4 separate regions of the Homo sapiens genome follow, and all the other regions are linked to region 2. The links are contacts of gene promoters, found by promoter capture Hi-C in blood cells and fetal thymus (Javierre and others, 2016). All regions are on one chromosome and are shown on one strand. Each heading gives the region's core, a stretch centred on a gene start or on the middle of the fragment in contact. The rest is flanking DNA. Distances are from core to core; before and after follow the strand shown. Region 1 overlaps SMPDL3A (sphingomyelin phosphodiesterase acid like 3A). Region 2 holds the start of SERINC1 (serine incorporator 1). Region 3 has its middle 34 kb from the start of FABP7. Region 4 has its middle 46 kb from the start of SMPDL3A.

Evidence for each region. Contacts are between HindIII fragments. The CHiCAGO score rates a contact against its expected background, and 5 or more counts as called.
Region 1: a contact is called between a fragment that was not itself captured here and the fragment with the promoter of SERINC1 in region 2, in 1 of 17 cell types (monocytes). The highest score is 5.1, in monocytes.
Region 3: a contact is called between a fragment that was not itself captured here and the fragment with the promoter of SERINC1 in region 2, in 1 of 17 cell types (monocytes). The highest score is 5.2, in monocytes.
Region 4: a contact is called between a fragment that was not itself captured here and the fragment with the promoter of SERINC1 in region 2, in 8 of 17 cell types (megakaryocytes, total B cells, naive B cells and 5 more). The highest score is 8.4, in megakaryocytes.

The regions. Positions count from the first base shown.
Region 1 is chr6:122,793,517-122,796,645 of GRCh38, reverse strand. It overlaps SMPDL3A (sphingomyelin phosphodiesterase acid like 3A), which reads right to left. Exons shown (of 8, transcript NM_006714.5): 2 at 756-969. Among named protein-coding and RNA genes, the nearest start is that of SMPDL3A, 5.8 kb to the right of the region's middle. The HindIII fragment of the contact is 1,132 bases long and covers 702-1,833 here.
Region 2 is chr6:122,470,392-122,473,479 of GRCh38, reverse strand. It overlaps SERINC1 (serine incorporator 1), which reads left to right and starts at 1,673. Exons shown (of 10, transcript NM_020755.4): 1 at 1,673-1,781. The coding sequence starts at 1,743. It also overlaps a transcript of PKIB not described here. RefSeq lists enhancers at 1,514-1,573, 1,624-2,023. The HindIII fragment of the contact is 8,379 bases long and covers 1-3,088 here.
Region 3 is chr6:122,743,779-122,746,678 of GRCh38, reverse strand. It overlaps the pseudogene RN7SL564P. Among named protein-coding and RNA genes, the nearest start is that of FABP7, 34 kb to the left of the region's middle. The HindIII fragment of the contact is 717 bases long and covers 1,008-1,724 here.
Region 4 is chr6:122,833,584-122,836,772 of GRCh38, reverse strand. No RefSeq gene overlaps it. Among named protein-coding and RNA genes, the nearest start is that of SMPDL3A, 46 kb to the right of the region's middle. The HindIII fragment of the contact is 292 bases long and covers 1,353-1,644 here.

The sequences.
Region 1 (3,129 bases), core at 18-2,517, 320 kb before region 2:
GAAAATTAACAAAATATAATACAAAAAATAAGCTGGAAATCCCAGCCTATTTCACTACCTGACTGAAGATTTATAAGAGGCTAAAAACTGCAATAATTAAAAGCAGATGCCAATTGAACCAGAGCCCAAATGCCTATTTCAAATCCCAGCTTTGCCAATTACTAGTTGTGTATACTCGTAAGTTACTTAGATGTTCAGTGCCTTCATTTCCTCATCTGTAAAATGGGAATAATAATATCCATTGTAAAAATTAAATAAGTTACAATGTATAAGTTAATTAAAACAGTGCCAAGCCCCAAGTAAATATTCTACAAGTATTAGCCATGGTCATTATTCCAGGTAAAGAAATATGGGCCTCTTCACCCTATAATGATGAAGGGAACCAGTTAGTTATACTGCCAGAAGATGATGCTTTACAAAATTGTCATGACAGGTAAACTTCCATTATTGCCTTTTGTCTTTGATAATTTCATGAAGACCTAATATCAACACCTCAAGATATTGATGCAAGTGTGCTGTTTATGGATTCATCTCTTAGTTAACACTGACATATTTCTGAAATCTGTATTCCAAAAAAAAACACTTCTAAAATTGTTCTTACCTCTAATAATGTTGATTAGTTTGACCTAGTGTTTTTTTAACTCAAATAACTCTTAAAATGTAACTAATCTTATTATGGAATTCAGCACTCTTATGAAGCTTAGGACACTGTAAATAAATATTGAGTAATTAATGGTACTTGTATAATCACTTACCCTGTCCATATCATGAAAGATGCTTCTTGTCCAGAATTTTTAATAAAATCAAATGCTGACAAAATAAGTTGATATGGAGAATCACACAGAACATCTCCAAAAGGGCCAGGGTTGGAGGCATTTGCACCTTTAGATGAAGCACACACTTTTGTGTGGTCATCTGTGATGTGGTAAGTAGGGTCTAAGTGTAAGTCAGTCACATGCCAAAACTGTCCTGTTGATTACACAAAAAATGCAGATAAATCTACTTGTTCTCTTTTGGAATTCTCATAAAAATATTTATATTAAGACTAGAGACGGTTGTTCCTCCCTGTGATGGAGGAAAGCCTTGGTAATTTAAATGTTCATAAGCCTCGAAGTTAAATACAGTCCTTCTCTGTGAGAAGATGAGCTTCAAGGAACTGTAGGAACAATTTACTACTTAAGTGTGTCAGAACTGATGAGCTCAGGCCGGGCGCGGTGGCTCATGCCTGTAATCTCAGCAATTTGGGAGGCTGAAGCAGGTGGATCCCTTGAGGTCAGGAGTTCGAGACCAACCTGGCCAACATGGTGAAACCCCATCTCTACCAAAAATATAAAAAATTAGCCAAGTGTGGTGGCACACGCCTGTAATCCCAGCTATTTGGGAAGCTGACGCAGGAGAATCACTTAAACCCGGGAGGTGGAGGTTGTGGTAAGCTGAGATCGTGCCACTGTACTCCAGCCTGGGCGACAGAGCAAGACTCCGTCTCAAAAAAAAAGAACCGATGAGCTCAGTATTAGTATCAGCATGATAACCTAACAAAGAATATTTAGCAAAGCTATGTTTCCATAATAAAATGTATGAAAATACCCTTCGGAGAGGCCAATGATGACATCATCTTGTGTCTTAATAGCATGTCTCCTTTAAGAGTTTAAGATTTTACAAATTATTTACATTCTTCTTGTAGAAAAATTGACGTATAAATATGATGTCGTTTGTTAGGGTTACACAGTGAGTAGGTAGACTGCAGAACCAGGAACTATATATCACTCTTACTTTCTTATAAACCTTGCCTCTCAACATTAATTCAAAGAACATAAATCTCTAATACAAGCTTTAAGCCAAAAATAGGAATTCCCAAAGCTTCTTAAAAGCTATTTAATAGAGGTACATCTTCTATCATATACTCATATAAAATGTTAATAAAATTAAGGGAAGCAGTTGTTAAAAAGGATGCTTCCATTGGGTTTTTAGGAAGCAGCCAAGCCCATTTGATAGCACCCTTACTTGGAAATCATCTTAAGAAAGTTTTTTTTTGTGTGTGTTTTTTTTGAGATGGAGTCTCACACTGTCTCCAGTGCTGGAGTGCAATGGCGTGATCTTGGCTCACTGCCACCTCCACCTCCCGGGTTCAAGCGATTCTTCTGCCTCAGCCTTCTGAGTAGCTGGGATTACAGGTGCACGCCACCACACCCAGCTAATTTTTTGTATTTTTAGTAGAGACGGGGTTTCACCATGTTAGCCAGGATGGTCTCGATTTCCTGACCTCGTGATGTGCCCGCCCCAGCCTCCTAAAGTGCTGGGATTACAGGCGTGAGCCACCACACCCGGCCAAGAAAGTTTCCTTTATTGAAGGTAATACTAGAACAAATAATCACAGTGGTATCTCTCTTTATTAAGTATTTTCTATGTGCCAGGCACTGTGATAAGCAATTTAAATATACTATGTCATTTGATTCTCAAAACTGCTCTCCGAACTGGGAATTATGGTCCTCATTTTAGAATTGAAAAACCAGTGCTGGGTCAAATAGAAAATTTGTTAAAGTATACACAGCTAATAAATCTGAACTCCCATACTGAAGGGCTTCCAAGTTTGTTTATACATCATTTATATATATATATATTCAATGATCCTTATAAACCATGTTCAAATTGTTTTAATAAAGAGATTTTTTTCCACACTTTTGGGTTTTTGAGTTTACTCTGATTATGACTAGAAACACATCAGAAGTGACAAAGTAGCATGTACTACACCAGAAGCACAGAGTAAACAGGTAGGATGCAAACTTTAAACTCTACCAATATGTTACAACTGAATAAAACCCAAAGCTGGGATAATAAGGTGAAACAGTTGATACGTTAAGGTGAAAGGGGTGAGTTATCTTTTGGTGGTTGTTTCTTCCCAACATAGTTGTCATTATAATTCCATGACATATTTATGTTCACAACTAAGAAATGGTAGACAAAAGATCCAGAAGAAAGTAGTAGTATGGTCAATTACTTGGCACTTAGTCACTATTTGAAAACATCTGACAAAAGCAATTTTATTTTATTCCATAATGCAGAAAATACCCCAATCTTTATTTCCATCTTAGATATACTTTACCCAGCACAAAAAGTAAAGATGGCAAA
Region 2 (3,088 bases), core at 424-2,923:
AAGTGTTACATTCCAGAAAGATTAATATGACTTTTGTATTTAACTCTGAATATCTCAGGTGAAAAAACTCTATTGAATAGTGCAAGAACTTATGAATATCTCAGAAACCCTCTTAAATGGAGCAAGAGACAAGAATCTGTGCAAATTTAAATTTTAAGAGACCCATTCTCCATTTGGCTAATAAACATATTCTTTACGACCTTAAAGTTACTCACATATAAGTGTTTTTTGTCTCCTTCTCTGGTACTTTGAAAAGTTTAAGGACTTGAGATACTAGGATTCTCTTCTCCCATAAATAACGTATTAAGTTTAGCATAATTAAAAATATTGTTAGGTTTGTAATTTCCATTTCCACTATTCTTTTTTTTTGAGACGGAGTCTCGCTCTGCAGCCCAGGCTGGAGTGCAGTGGCCCAATCTCGGCTCACTGCAACCTCTGCCTCCCGGGTTCAAGCAGTTCTCCTGCCTCGCCTCCCGAGTAGCTGGGATTACATGCGCGTGCCACCATGCCCGGCTAATTTTTTGTATTTTTAGTAGAGATGGGGTTTCACCATGCTGGCCAGGCTGGTCTTGAACTCCTGGCCTTGTGACCCGCCTGCCTCAGCCTCCCAAAGTTCTGGGATTACAAGCATTTCCACAATTCTTTAAACCTTATGGATGCTCTATTATAATACTTTGCTTTAAGAGTGGTCTACAAAACCACAGATAAGGCAAAGAAGAATAAAGCAAGATTGTCCCTTAGTGGTTACAATAACTAGGAGTAGGGATTCTGACATTCTTCCAGATTCTTAGGTGTTTACCCCACCTCGACCCATGCAATTTTTGTAGATTTTACAACACTTTCTTATTATTAGTTATGGGAATGACTATTTCAAGTTTGAGCTGTTTCCCAGAATATTTTCAAGAACAAATAACTCTAAAAAAATAACTGGAACTTTTATAGGAATGCATTCCCTGCAGATGTGCATCATCACCTAATATGCAAGGGTTCCACATGCCTCAACAGCTCATGACATTCGAAATCAATGTTTGAGTTTGATAATGTCTTATCTAACTAATTAAAAATAATTTTAACGTGCAAATTTCTTGTAACATCTTAATAGCATAAGAAATTAAAATATAAGTCAATAGCAAACAGAAATGATACAGAGAAACTGAAGCACACAGATGAATATAAATATCCCAATAAAACTTGTTCCGGGCAGCGGGCTGCAGGAATACGTTGCAAACGCAAGAGCAAAACAGGATGCAAACGTGGGAAAAATGGGAAATAAGTGGAGTTAGGACGGACAAAGACTGAGAAAGAGGAAGCAATCCCCTAAAAAGCAGAGAGGTTCCTCAGATGAAGGAGGGCAAAACGTCAACCACCACCTCAGCTCTGTTCTCTACTAATGCCCAAATGCAAGTGCATGGTAGGTAAAGGTGGGTTTTGCTCACACCGTTTTCTTAATTTGGCAAACTACGGTCAGATCCACATTAGCCGTTAAGTTTCCAGCCAGCAGTCCTTGAGAAATTCTCCAGGAAAGAAGACAGCCGTGTCGTCTAGTGACGCGCATGCGCAGTCTCAGCGCTGCGCGCTCCGTGTTTTATCCTACCCAGGCCTGGAAGGAAGTGACGCGAGGCTGAGGGGCGGGTTGCGCTGTGCGTCCGGAAGTGTCTCGCAGATAGTAAATAATCTCGGAAAGGCGAGAAAGAAGCTGTCTCCATCTTGTCTGTATCCGCTGCTCTTGTGACGTTGTGGAGATGGGGAGCGTCCTGGGGCTGTGCTCCATGGCGAGCTGGGTAAGGTGCTTTTTGCGGCCTCTGGGGTGCTAGTGTGAGAGACCAAAGAGAAGGCGATCCGAGCCGGGGCTGGGTGAGCCCGGCGGGAATGTGGTGCCCCACCCAACAGGGAGTGCCCTCTCTGTCCCCGTTTTCTTCCCGTCTCCTCTCGTCACTCAGACTCAGCTTCAGAGCTTTGGGTCTTGCGAAGAACTGATCACTGGCCGTAAGGTTTAGTGGCGATGGGAAGATGACTCAAATTGAGGAAGAGAACTAGAATAGGGCCCCTCCCCCACCCCTGCTTCGTGAACGCTGTCTCCCATTCTTTGAGGTCCCTTTTCGTGGTTTTGTTTGTATCTGCGCAGGCCATCTCTACAAAGGTCTTTGCCCCTTTCCTTCGGTGGGGTACCCACTCTGTTGTCATCTCTTTCCTGGCGACCTCAGACTGCCGCACTGTCGTTCCTGGATTCATGTCGCCCTCTTTGTTCAGTGGCGCAGATTATGATTAAAAAGTGCCTGTCGTCATTTGGAACCGCCTGGCAGTAATGCTAATGTAGTAATATTGTTTTTGAAACAAATAGTCATAGCTCTGCCGTAACTGTTTGAAGTGTCAATTTCAGATTTCAACTTAAAATTGAAATTTCAGATGACACACGCATGCCTTGTGCCTAATGACAATTTTGTCTTTAGGCACAAAACATGCGTGTGTCATCTGAAATTTCATGCTTAATTAGCTGTACATTGCATTTTCATTAAAGAGTTGTTAGAGTAAAACTATTTTCAGTATAGTGGCAAGACTTTGGTCCGTGTGGCACAAATTTCAGTTTATTTAAGATAATCTCTGCCCCCTCCAAAATAGTAGGCAAAACATTGGCAGTGCAGTTAATAAAGATATTTGTAATTTTAGGCGAGGTATTTGGACTCAAATCACTTTTCTTTAGTCTGGAATTTGTTAATTCTGTTTCTAACAATTGCTTTTCTGACTTCCCAAATGATTCCGTTATATATACTCTTAAAGGTTTTGATATGTCTTGAACTAAAAATGTTGAATTTTAATCAAATAATAATGTGGGGATTGTTACTCCAGCCAGTCTGTTCTTTTGATTATATGGTATTTCTTCTTGCACGGAAGCCTGGAATATTTTATCTCAAGATATTAGAGAGTTTAATTATTGACTTTTATACAAAAGAGGCATATTTAGTGTGATAAACAGTTTTGAAAACTGATAATTGATTATCATATAAGATTGTTTTCATCGGTTTTTTATTGGAAGATGTTATGCAATTCAATTTGTAATGTCGTATCTTGTCCAGTTATGAAGTGGGCG
Region 3 (2,900 bases), core at 117-2,616, 270 kb before region 2:
GAAGGGCTACTGGACTGAAGGGGACCGGGCTCAAGCACCACCAAGGAGCCCATGGTCAGGATTACAATTAGGGGCAAGGACATTAAATTTTTGGTCGATACTGGTGCTGAACATTCAGTAGTGACAACCCTGGTCGCCCCCTTATCCAAGAAAACCATTGATATAATCAGAGCAACAGGAGTTTCCACTAAGCAGGCTTTCTGTCTACCACGGACCTGCTTGGTGTGGGGACATAAGATAGTTCACCAGTTCTTGTACATGCCTGACTGTCCTTTGCTATTGCTGGGAAGAGTCCTGCTTAGCAAGCTGAGAGCCACCATCTGCTTTACAAAACAGGGCTCTTTACAGCTAAAGTTACCGGGAACAGGAGTTATCAAGGCCCTTACGGTCCCCCGGGAAGAAGAATGGAGACTTTTTCTAACCAAGCCAGGCCAAGAGATAAAATCAGCTCTAGCTAAGCAATGGCCCCGAGTATGGGCAGAGGATAATCCTCCAGGACTGGTGGTCAACCAAGCCCCCATACTCATAGAAGTTAAGCCTGGGGCACAACCAATTAGACAAAAGCAGTATCCAGTTCCCAGAGAAGCTCTTAAAGGAATCCAGGTTCATCTCAGGCACTTCAAAGCCTATGGAATTATAGTTCTTTGCTAGTCTCCATGGCACACCCCCCTCCTGCCTGTGCCTAAGCCAGGGACCAAGGACTACCAGCCAGTACAGGACTTATGCTTGGTCAACCAAGCTACAGTGACTCTGCACCCAACAGTTCCTAACCCTTACACATTATTAGGGCTGCTGCTAGCTGAGGACAGCTGGTTTACCTGTCTGGACTTAAAATATGCCTTCTTTTGCATCAGACTAGCTCCTGAGAGCCAGAAGCTGTTTGCCTTTCAGTGGGAAGATCCGGAGTCACGTGTCACTACTCAGTACACTTGGACCCGGCTTCCCCAAAGGTTCAAGAACTCCCCTACTATCTTTGGGGAGGCCCTGGCTCGAGACCTGCAAAAGCTTCCTGCTAAAGACTTAGGCTGCATCTTGCTCCTGTACGTGGACAACCTTCTGCTGGGACACTCCACAGCAGTCAGGTGTGCTAAAGGGACGGATGCCCTGCTTTGGCACCTGGAGGACTGTGGGTATAAGGTGTCCAAGAAGAAAGCTCAGATCTGCTGACAGCACAGGCACGATCCCACTACTGATCAGCACGGGAGTTTTGACCTGCTCAATTTCCGACCTGGGCCGGTCCACCCCTCCTTAGGCAACCTGCTGTTCCCCCGCTTCCGGGAGGTCACCATATTGATGCTGAACTTAGTGCAGACACCCAATTGGCATAGCGCACTACAGCTGATTCAGAAGCTCGAAAAGCAGCATCTACCTCTTACCGGGCATCAGTAGCAGCCCCCTTACTCCCTCAAACACCTGACCTGGTACCTACCTATTCTAAGGAAGAAAAAGACTTCTTCCACACAGAAGAGGGGCAAGTAATAAAAGGAGGATGGATCAGACTGCCAGGTGGAAGAGTAGCTGTGCTGCAGTTGCTAGGAGCCATAATCATATTGGCCATGCACAAAACCACTCATCTAGGACAAGAGTCACTTGAAAAATTGTTAGGCCGGTACTTCTACATCTCACTCTTGCCAGCCCTTGCCAAAGCAGTAGCACAACAGTGCATTACTTGCCGACAGCACAATAAGAGGCAAGGCCCCACTGTTCCACCTGGCATACAAGCTTATGGAGCGGCTCCTTTTGAGGATCTTCAGGTGGATTTCACAGAAATGCTGAAATGTGGAGGTAACAAGTATTTGCTGGTTCTTGTGTGTACTTACTCTGGGTGGGTAGAGGCTTATCCAACACGAACTGAAAAGGCCTACGAGGTAACCCGTGTGCTTCTCCGAGATCTTATTCCTAGGTTTGGACTGCCCTTATGAATCGGCTCAGATAACAGGCCAGCATTTGTGGCTGACTTGGTACAGAAGACAGCAAAGGCATTAGGAATCACTTGGAAGCTACATGCCGCCTACCGACCTCAGAGTTCCAGAAAGGTGGAGCGAATGAATCAGACTATCAAAAATAGTTTAAGGAAAGTATGTCATGAAACAGGATTAAAGCGGATACAGGCCCTTCCTATGGTATTGTTTAAAATTAGATGCACTCCTTCTAAGAAAATAGAATACTCCCCTTATGAAATGCTGTATCATAGGCCTCCTCCAATACTACAGGAGCTTCCAGGCACTCCCCAAGAGTTAGGTAAAATTGAATTACAGCGACAGCTACAGGCTTTAGGAAAAATTACACAAACAATCTCAACTTGGGTAAATGAGAGGTGTCCCATCAGCTTATTCTCCCCAGTTCACCCTTACTCTCCAGGTGATGGCGTGTGGATCAAGGACTGGAACGTAGCCCCTTTGCGGCCACGGTGGAAAGGACCTCAGACCGTCATCCTGACCACCCCCACGGCTGTAAAGGTAGAAGGAATCCCAGCCTGGATCCACCACAGCCGTGTGAAACCTTTCAGCCACTGAAACCTGGGAGGCAAAACAGAGCCTGGACAACCCCTGCAAAGTGACTCTGAGGAGGACGACAAGCCCTGCTCCAGTCACACCCGGAAGCTGACTGGTCCACGCACAGCCGAAGCATGAGGAGAATCATCATGAGACTCATTTTCCTTATAATTTGGACTTGTATAGTAAAAACTTCCACTGATTTTCCCTGCATGGAGACTGCTCTCAGTGTATACATCAGGTTACCGAGGTAGGGCAGCAAGTTAAAACAGTCTTTCTGTTCTATAGTTACTATGAATGCCTAGGAACTTTAAAAGGAACATATTTATATAATGACACTCAGTACAAGGTATGTAGCCAGGAAACGACCAACCAGATGTGTGTTATGACCCCTCTGAGCCTCCC
Region 4 (3,189 bases), core at 249-2,748, 360 kb before region 2:
CAGGCGTGAGCCACTGCACCCGGCCCGACTTGGGGTTTTATATGTTGGCGTGATTCTGGGTCTTGCGTTCCTTCTCCCCTGATTCTTCTCTTGGTGTGGGTTGTCCACATACACAGTGGCCTGCTAGTGCTTGGGAGGGGAGCATGCACGGTGTGTTTACTGGAGTTGTACGCATGCTCACCTGAGGCATTCTTCCCTTTTGCCGTGGAATGGGCGCGGAAGGTCATATACCAGTTAAATTCCACCGTTTTGCCTCTTAGTGCACATGTGTGAGCCCACTTGCCCAGCTCCTAAGATCTCATCAGGAAGCTGCTGATCACCAGTTTCAGTTTTTTCCTGTCTATAGGGAAACTGCCTTTCCCTGGCACTGGCTGCGACCAATTATTATTTTAGAGGCAGTGTGACAACTGTCTGACCATCACCTGATGGTCACCCGACTTTTCTGATGGGGTGATGGGGGAGCCCTCTCTTGCCCCATTCATGCCTGACTAGCCACCTACTGTAACAAAGTCATGCAAGCCAGATCCCAGCTATATTCTAGTACCTGGGACTTCCTTTGCAGCACTTATCAAAACTGTAATTATTTAACGATTTGTATTTTTCTAATTATCTATCTGCACCACCTAGATAGATTTGTATTTTTCTAATTATCTATCTGCATCACCCTGCCTCACCTCACTTCCTTCAAGGTTGTATCCTTGGCAATGCTCACAATGCCTGTTCATAGCAGAGGCTCCGGGATAGTCTCATAGTCATCTTAAAATTCCTAGTACTTAGCACATATCATGTAAATGTAAGGTTTCTTGGATAAAGCTTTGGCTACTTTAGTCTGTCTATAGGATACTGCAGTAAACAAAAAACATTTCATGCTCTCATGAAAACATTCTAGTGCAAGATGGGGGAACAGAGGTAATAGATACAAATGTCATATGTATGAATAGTTAAGCAATTGTGATATCATATCAGACAGTGATAAGTGTGTGTACACAGACACCTCTACAATGTCAGGGGTCTGCTCTGGGAAACTGACAGCCAAGTACAGAGTTGAAAGAACTGTCCCCTGAAGAGCATAGAAGAGATTTCTAGGCACGGGAACAGCTCATGCGAAGGTCCTGCACAAGAGTTTGGCAGGTTCAAAAGGCCAGTGAGGCCAGAAGGAATTGAAGGAAGGCATGGCCATCCATCCATGCCATTCCGTTCAGTGAAAACCAAAGAAAAGTAGCTTGAACAACCCAAGAAGTCCAGTAATAGAACAATCATTTAATAACAAACATAAAGGAACCTGCCCTAACCGTGCAAACCCATAGTGTTCAACAGTCTTAGCTTCTGATTTTGCAACATTATGTAAAGCTTAGGGAAAGATTCTTTCTGTAATGCTAATTTAAGTATCAAGAGAAAAAATTGCTTAGACAGGATAGGTTCAACTGGGCAAGGACTCTTGAAAGGTAACTCATGCTTGTTCATTAATGCAATATTTAACAAATACTGAATGGCTTCTAGTGTCAGACATTGTTCTTAATAGTATTGGGGACACGACAGTGAACAACATAGAAAACAACACCTGTCCTCATGGAGCTTATATATTTGTTGTGGAGAGATAGCCAAAAATAAAAATAAAAATTTCACAAAGGACTAGATCAAGCTTGTCCAACCCATGGCCCATGGGCTGCATGCAGCCCAGGATGGCTTTGAATGTGGCTGAACACAAATTCATAAACTTTGTTAAAACATTATGAGATCTCTTCTGCAATTTTTTTAAGCTTATCAGCTATCATTAGTGTTACTGTATTTGATGTGTGGCCCAAGACAATTCTTCTTTTTCCAAGGTGGCCCAGAGAAGCCAAAAGATTGAACACCCCTGGATTAGATCATTTCAGCTGCAACAAGTACTAAAAAAGAAAAGTGCCAGAACTAACTTGGATAGTTGGATGCTTTCCTTTTAGCAAATAACCTGTCAGCCTATCAATCACTTAATAATAAGAGAGGTTCCCTTTATGTAATAGAATAATGGAATGATTTTTCTCCTTCATGTTTTCTGCATTTTCTAATTTTTTTACAGTGACAATGCTACTTTACTTATCAAATAAAAAATTTATTAAATAATACATAAAGATATTCTTGTTAACATTTCAGACATTAAAGACAAAGCTAAGGCTTCCTTTACCAAAGGAAAGGTGACAGGCATAAACTCACATAATCAATCAGCTTTGTTAAAAGTGACAAAGATTTGAAGTGTGTGATTCGGTGCCTCTGCTTCATAACTAGAATAAATTTTCTCAGAAAGTTATCTCTCTTCCCAGAAGAATAAGAAAACATACTTTATTATTTTTAACACAAATTCCTCCTTCCTTTATTTTTAACACAAATTCCTCTTTCCTTTAATTTGTGAAAAAAAAGTAGTATCAGGAGGGGTACCATTGTTAGCCCCATGTGATCAAACAAATAATCTGCAATTCTATTGTAGATAAGCAGCAAGAAATGCTTTTAGGGTTTGGTTCACATGTTACAGAGAAGTTAGTGGACCTCAGTAGAATGAGGCTCTTATTTTAAAAACCTTCTTGATCAGATGTTCAAACTGAGGGTCAAAACACTGTTGATTGCCATGAAACCTATTGTGAAAATGGGTTATCAACACCAACTAAAACTGCTTCCGCAAGGCATATGGAATCTCCATGGTACAGTCCTCAGAAACAACACTGGTAAAACCAATGTGCCACATTACTTTCAAATAAGCCTCCCCTGAACAATATGTGATATTGATGAGACATATGGGTACTAGCCTACTATGGTTTTAAAGCATATAGTCTCTTTTAAGCAATGAAGTCTGAGGGAGAATAACCAGAACATTAAGATAACAGAAGAAACATTCTAATTATGTTGATTAACCTTCCTCCCAACTGAAAGAAGTATTATTTTCTGCCACTGCTCTGTTAATGTACATACATATTTCTAGATAAAAATTAATATAACCACTACAAAAACCTAGGAGCAAGTTGGGGGCAGGGGGAAATCAATAAAGTACCAAAACAGATAAAACTGATATACCGCACCCGAGTTTCAATATACTATAAATTATTTCTTCCTCAAGATTCTATCCTTCTTTACTCCCCTCCTCCATTACAGAATCTCAATTTAAAAGAAAAATGTATTTGATAATAAATAGCATTTAGAAATTCTCAAGGAAAGGCA